2 separate regions of the Homo sapiens genome follow, and region 1 is linked to region 2. The links are contacts of gene promoters, found by promoter capture Hi-C in human tissues and cell types (Jung and others, 2019). All regions are on one chromosome and are shown on one strand. Each heading gives the region's core, a stretch centred on a gene start or on the middle of the fragment in contact. The rest is flanking DNA. Distances are from core to core; before and after follow the strand shown.

Region 1 (3,419 bases), core at 103-2,602, 330 kb after region 2:
GATTATGGAAAGTAAAGCTTGTTAGAGGAGAGCTCTGAGCCCTTAGTATTTCGAATGAAATTTTACTTAATAGGTTTGGATTTTATTTGACCGATAACCAGAAAGCCTTTTTCCCTTTATCTAGTAATGGGTAGTTTTGATGTTTTCTGTTTATTCTGTCAAGTGTTATTGCACAGGACCCAACAGCCCAATGCCATTAGGAAAATAAAAATTGTCAAAGAACTACATCAGCATCGCGTTTGAAAGCAGTTTTCTTTTCTTAAAGAAACAGCATACCAATTGTGACAGAGCAGCCCCTCATCTCTGCTGGAGAAAACAGAGTGCAAGTACTGAAAAATGTGCCATTTAACATTGTCCTTCCCCATGGCAACCAGCTGGGCATTGATAAGAGAGGCCATCTGACAGCTCCAGATACGACAGTCACTGTCTCCATAGCAACGATGCCTACCCACTCCATCAAGACAGAAACCCAGCCACATGGCTTCGCTGTGGGAATCCCCCCAGCAGTGTATCATCCTGAGCCCACTGAGCGGGTGGTGGTTTTCGATCGGAATCTCAATACTGACCAGTTCAGCTCTGGTGCTCAAGCCCCAAATGCTCAAAGGCGAACTCCAGACTCGACCTTCTCAGAGACCTTCAAGGAAGGCGTTCAGGAGGTAAGGAAACAAAAACATCTTCCTAAGACGCCTGCGTGTTTGTATAAGTATTGGGTTCCACCTTTTCCTTGTTATGTAAGCATGAAACTCAGCCTGAAATGAATGGATTAGGAATAAAAGATTTTTTTTTTAAGAGAAAAGGCCCATGGGTATAATTTGTAAACTAAACCTATACAACCAGAAGTTATTATCAAGGATGCAAGGCTAATCTTACCAGCAGCTGAGTTAACAATTATGATTTCAGCTAAGGGATTTGCTGGAGAAAGAGAACCCCATACATAATCTTCTGTTGACCACAGGTAGATTCTCCTAGTCTGTTTTCAGCACTTCTCCCAGTGCCAAACAAGCTCCCTGGAGCTCATATAAAATGAGTTATTATATCTTTGCTTGGTGTTTCTTGGTTGGTAATGTAGTCAGGGAGAGCACAAATGCATTGTGTGAGGTTTACAAATTAATTCCAAATAGTTCTGGGGGTTTTATGGTGATGAATACCTCACTCAGCTAAAAGTTAGGGACTAAAGGTGTTAGAAACCATACTTAGTGACTTGGTGGGGTAAAGAGCATCCATCTCTGCGTATGGAGTTAGGGGCAGAATGTTAGCCTTTCCTGAGAAAATGCACCACATCTCTTCAGCTGTGGTGTGAACTTGATGCTGTGTCTTAACTTGGTATAATGATAGGGTGACTTTTAAAAGTCATGAAATTTTGGTTGCAGGTCCTAGTGTTTGAACAGAGTTGGGATGTGTGTGAAAGACAGAAAAGGGGGTCGTGAGTCAGAAGCACTTAGTGGGAGTACCTACACAGCTTGTTGTAATTTACTTGAGTGGCATATAAAAGTGGATATTTTCTCTGTTTTAATTTTTTAAGTATTTGTAGAATCAAAATTTTTACTCAAAAATAAATATGGAAAGGATAGTGGGTTGCTGTAAGCCACATACTTTTATGCGGTACCAGAGCTTGGTCTTTAGTAAGCATGATAACCAGTTAAATAGTTGTGGCTTATCACATTGATATTTCAGGTTTTCTTCCCCTCGGATCTCAGTCTGCGGATGCCTGGCATGAATTCAGAGGACTATGTTTTTGACAGTGTTTCTGGGTAATAGATGTCTTTTAATTTGATTTTTAATTTGCAGCTTTTATAACTTATTCCTTTCTTGTTAACTTGATAAATCAAAGGTGGCTTTAGCAGGCTTTCCCCTTATCTTACTACTTTTACTGTGGTACAGTCTTGGGTAGAGGACATCTGCTTCAGTGCTTTTAATTTTGAACTCTTTGAACTATGTTTCAAGTTTCCTTAATTCTTGGTGTTGGTGCTTTTTCTTTCTTTTGGATTCTTTATGTGATGGTAGTAGAATGGAATCTAATAGGAGAGATGAGGGGATTAAATTAGGTCTCTGAGGTCCTTTCTGTTGCCAAATATATATAATTAGGTGAGAATTTAGGAGTAATATCAAGTGATAAAAGCTTTTTTTTTTTAAAATCAGCCTCACTAATGATAAAATAAATGAAGTCAACTTTTTTCTGAGCTGACAACTTTCTTTTGACCTCACAAAATTGTATCTCACTCTGGGAGTATGAATATTTTCCAAGTTAATTAGGAACTCATATTTTGTTTTATGTGTTTTTTACATGTGTTATATTTTACAGTTTTAAAAGTGTCTAAGATTTTATGGGAATTGAGACTTCCCTTATAGATCTGCCTCAAGATGCAGGAGTCCCAAATGGAAATACCTTTAGGGTTTAGGATAGGGGTCAGCTAACTTTTTCTGTAAAGACTCAGAGAGTAAATATTTCAGGCTTTGTGGGCCATACAACCTCTGTATATTTTTGCAACTACCCCGGTCTGCCATTGTGCAAAAGCAGCCATAGGTAATGTGTAAACAAATGATGTGGCTATGTGCTAATAAAACTTTAGTTACAAAAATAGGTGTAATCTGCTGAGCCGTGGCCTGGGAAGGTTCTTAAACAACTTTAGGGGCATATATGAGTGGTAGTGTTAGGTAATAGGTAATGTCGAGAATTGTGGAGTGCCTGCCTATTAAAGACATTTAAATTACAAGTAGGAACAACAAAAAAATGCTATATAGGCCAAAAGGAATTTAGTCAGAGGAACACCAGCCACCTGTCTGAAACCTCTGCTGGATAAATATCAGATTGGCAGCATGTCTTGTGAGAAGTTCCTTCCAAAGTCCTTTCCACCTATCAGTATCTTTAATATCTCGAGCCCTCAAACTCAGGATGTCCGATTACTGACATCCATCACATCATAGAATTTTTAATCGGCAATTTGTACTTCCACCTCTGAGAGACTTGAGAATTTTTAGCTGCTGAGTACTTTTGTTTCAGATTTTCTTTAAGTGAAAAAGATAGCAAATGCTATTTATAATATGATGTATAGCAAGCTTCCACGAGAGTAGATTTAGAGACCTGTGACTTTTTTTGTCCTTTAGGAACAACTTTGAATATACCCTAGAAGCTTCAAAATCACTTCGACAGAAGCCAGGAGACAGTACCATGACGTACCTGAACAAAGGCCAGTTCTATCCCATCACCTTGAAGGAGGTGAGCAGCAGTGAAGGAATCCATCATCCCATCAGCAAAGTTCGAGTAAGTTCTGCTCTTAGTCCTGTTCTCTAGGAAAGCTAGTCAGAGCCTAACATTTCCAGGTCTGAAGCAGCTCTGAATGACCGCCTGAAATTGCAGCTTTAAGCCTTCACTGTAAAATATAGTACTAAATACGTTTTCCAAAACATACTCACCCTTT
Region 2 (3,515 bases), core at 888-3,387:
TTTAGTACACACTGTCTGCATTACTTTCTTTGCCTCTTTACCAGTTATTTCCATCAGCCATGATTTTGTCCGGATCGCCTGTCATCGTATTAGAAAAATAGATAGGTTAAAAAAGTTTCGTGGATTTTTTTTTTTTAAACAAGGGGTGGGGAACATATTCCCTGCCCCACCATTCTGATGAGATGAAGAAAGGCGGCTTGGGGGGTGGGGGTGGGGGAGGAGGCCAGGGAGAAATTATTTCTTCCATTCCCTTTTGAAAAATCCCCAGTCTAGTATGCTTGTCTATCAAAGCCCACCTAAAATATGATGTGCACAAACACATCAAAAATAAGTAGGCCTCTTGTAAAAGTGACACTTAAAAGGCAAACCATATGAGATTATTTCCCATTTTATTCATAGAAATGACTCTTGGCAGCACTGAAACATTTAAAAACACTCCTGGATATAATGCTGGTATTTCAGTTTTAAAAACTTATCCTACGGATCAAAAGATCCATGGAATGACAAAGCTAAAAATGTTCTCTCTCACTAATAAGGGTGAATCACAGCAGCCACCTACTCCACCCAACAATCGTCCTTGCTAAGACTGGACAGTTCAAAACCTGGAAAGCTTTCCTTGTCTGCTCCACACTGGAAACGAATTCACTTCAACACTAGTGTTTAAGCACAGGTGTGCAACAGCAAGGAAATGTTATTAAATGTTGAAATTTACCAGGACATTGTGTTCTTCAGATACAGCTGTGTCCTTTTCACATTTCCCGAACTCCCCTCCTCTCCTGTTTATGGGGGGTGGGGGGGAGCACAACAGATACTCTTACTTGAAAAATAAAGTATCTGTTCAGATTTTCTAAGTAAATTTCCATTACTGGGTTTGGGAAAAAATCCCTACTACATTGTCTGTAACAAAAAGGTGCCTGCGCCTTCTTTCAACTGCCTGAAGCTTGTGAACCGACTGAATACATTTAAAGGGCTCACAGATCTCAGGACGCAGTCTCCCCGCACAAGAAACTTAAAAACGCCTTTCAGTCTCGCAGAGACCTACTTGGATGTTTCCAAGTTCCATCGTTTGGTAGCTACCCAGCATCTGGGGCGAAAAAAAAGGACTTATCCTTGGAAAAGCGGCTTCTTGAGTCTCAACAACCGGAGGGACACAGTAGGGAAGTCAGGGCTCACCTAAAACCCTCCACCCCAGCAGACAGTCCGGCAAGCCCCGGCTCACGTTTGTTTCCGTGCCCGCGAAACTCTCAATGAAAAGCATCTCACAAAAGGCCTCCCCTGCTCCCCGCGCCGAGGACTCACCAGCACCGTGGTGCAGATGGATCTCAGCTCGGACTCCACTTTCTCCCGATAGTCCTTAATCAGCTGCAACTTCTTGTCGGAGGTGTCGGTCTTCTGCTCGATGCTAGAGATGACCCTCCAGGCGGACCTGCGGCCCCCGACCACGTTCTTGTAGGCCACGGAGAGCAGGTTGCGCTCCTCGTTGGACAGCTCGGCGCCCTGCTCGGTCACTGCCTTCATGCAGGTGGCCATGTCGTCGTAGCGCTCGGCCTGCTCGGCCAGCTTGGCCTTCTGGATCAGCTCAGTCTTCTCCATGGCGGGCGCGGGGCCGGGGCCGGGGCGGAGGGCGAGGAGAGCGAGGGCGAGCGCCGACCCGCAGCGGGAGGAGCCTCGAGAGCTGCGGAGGGGCGGGGCGGCGAGGCGAGAACAAAAAGCAGAGAGGGAGCGCCGTCAGACAATGCGGCCCGCCGCCCGCTTTTGTCTCCCGCACACGCGGCCGCTTGAATTTCCCTCTCCCCCGCCCCCTCCCCCGCTGGGCACCCGGGGAGGCCGCGGCCCGCGGCTGGAGGAGGCGGGGGCGGCGCGGAGGCCCCGCGCGCAGGGAGCCCGAGCCGCGGCCGCTCCCGCCACCCCCGCCCGGCCGGCCCAAGATGGAAGCGACCGTTGGCCCCGCACCTTCCCGCCCGGAGCCGTCCCTGAGGGGAGCGGCATCGACAACCGGCTGCTCTCAAGGGCGGCACCTCCGCCCGGCCCTCAATCCGAGCGCGGCCGGAGGAAGCCCGCGGGCCGACCCAGGCGCTCACCTTCACGTCTCCGCGGCCGCGACGCGAGTCCCACCACTTTGATCTGCTTTTGGCTTTAGCTGAGGACCCTCCCGTGTCAGCCTACCCCGGGGCCGAGGGGCGGTCCACCGCCCAATGATGCGCCGAGCTTCTCCCGAGAGTCCCGCCCCCAGCGCGCCGCTGGCCAATGAGGACCGAGCGCGCGGAAGGGGGCGAGGGGGGCGGAGCGGGAGGGAACGCGGAGGCTAGGAGGGTGGGTCGGTACGGGGAAGTTCGGTTGGCCGGCAGGCTGCGGCTTCGGCCACGGGGTTTCCTCCAATTAGATCCAGGGTAAAAGGACGTCACTGTTGCCATGGCGATGCCGTTACCAACTCCCCTCAGCCTCCCCGCCACCCCGGCACTTCTGGGTGCGGCACGAGACCCAGAGGCGCGCACGACCTCCTAGGCGGCGGCTGCGTCTCCCGCTGCGGATGGTGCATTGCATCTCACGGGCTCTGGCCGAGGCTGGACTTCGGAGGGTGACATATTCAGCTGTTTTAGAGCACGGGGGCCTTTCTTTCCTCCACCTTTCTATCCGTGACAAAGGTTTGGATCCCAAGACACTAAACCCAGACCTTAATGACGTTGCCATTAGGGCTCCGAATTAAGCAAACCGCATCCCCATTAAAGAAGAATTGATTCTGGAGACGGTGTCTTCAGTATGGCATTTACATGATAAATTCAAGTTTTCAGATGGGCATCCTAAAACAAAAAATTCCCTTGTGAAAAGGTAGGTCCCAGAAGATCCAGGGGAGTTTCTGTGACAATGCCAAGTATTGTGGTTTTCTTTAAAATGAGAAATGACATTAAGCACAATTTGCAGGAAAACACCTATTACTACCCCTTCCCACCCCCGCAAAAAAAAACCCTGCCCATAACATCTCTCCCCGCAAAAAAAAAGCAATTTTTATGTATCTTTTAGGCTTTCCAGGTTATGCACCTAAATACATCATTTTTCACATCGTTGTCACATGTGCACACGCTTTTGTTTCTGGTATTATTTGTGAGAGGTCACTTGAAAAGCTGAAATCCTCTCCCTGGATGTTGATTTCTGATTTTCTCCTCCTGGGGAACACCCTGCTGAAGCGAGAAAGATTCCCCCAGGCCCCTCCCATTCAGGGTCATCCCTGGCAGCTCCCTTTCCTCTTAAACCACTCCTGTCTCTCCTTGCACTTCCCCAGTTCCCTAACTCCATCCAGGTAGGGTGGCTGCCCTGCCCGTCTGGCGCGTGGTCCCTGTGCCATCTTAAGATGAGAATTGCCCTCTGGGTTCACGCTGCTATGATCCCGATTCCAGCAGGTCTAAGGAGAATGGATCATAAAGAATTTCCCATTCTGAGTGGAGACTGGAGCAAATCCGGAGAATCTCTAGAATGGGAGATTTGAGAGTGCAGACAGATGGGAGGAGAAGGTGCCG

Evidence for each region. The method cuts DNA at HindIII sites, captures the fragments that hold promoters and counts their contacts. A contact is called where the count stands out against the background at its distance.
Region 1: a contact is called between a fragment that was not itself captured here and the fragment with the promoter of YWHAQ in region 2, in 1 of the 25 tissues and cell types used here (IMR-90 fibroblasts).

What each region holds. Positions count from the first base shown.
Region 1 is chr2:9,960,781-9,964,199 of GRCh38, forward strand. It overlaps GRHL1 (grainyhead like transcription factor 1), which reads left to right. Exons shown (of 16, transcript NM_198182.3): 4 at 266-656; 5 at 1,675-1,751; 6 at 3,106-3,262. Among named protein-coding and RNA genes, the nearest start is that of GRHL1, 11 kb to the left of the region's middle. The HindIII fragment of the contact is 3,483 bases long and covers 1-3,094 here.
Region 2 is chr2:9,628,860-9,632,374 of GRCh38, forward strand. YWHAQ (tyrosine 3-monooxygenase/tryptophan 5-monooxygenase activation protein theta) reads right to left here and starts at 2,138. Exons shown (of 6, transcript NM_006826.4): 1 at 2,082-2,138; 2 at 1,300-1,675. The coding sequence starts at 1,593. RefSeq lists enhancers at 724-1,626, 1,370-1,469 and silencers at 1,590-1,939, 2,140-2,239, 2,290-2,459. The HindIII fragment of the contact is 8,846 bases long and covers 776-3,515 here.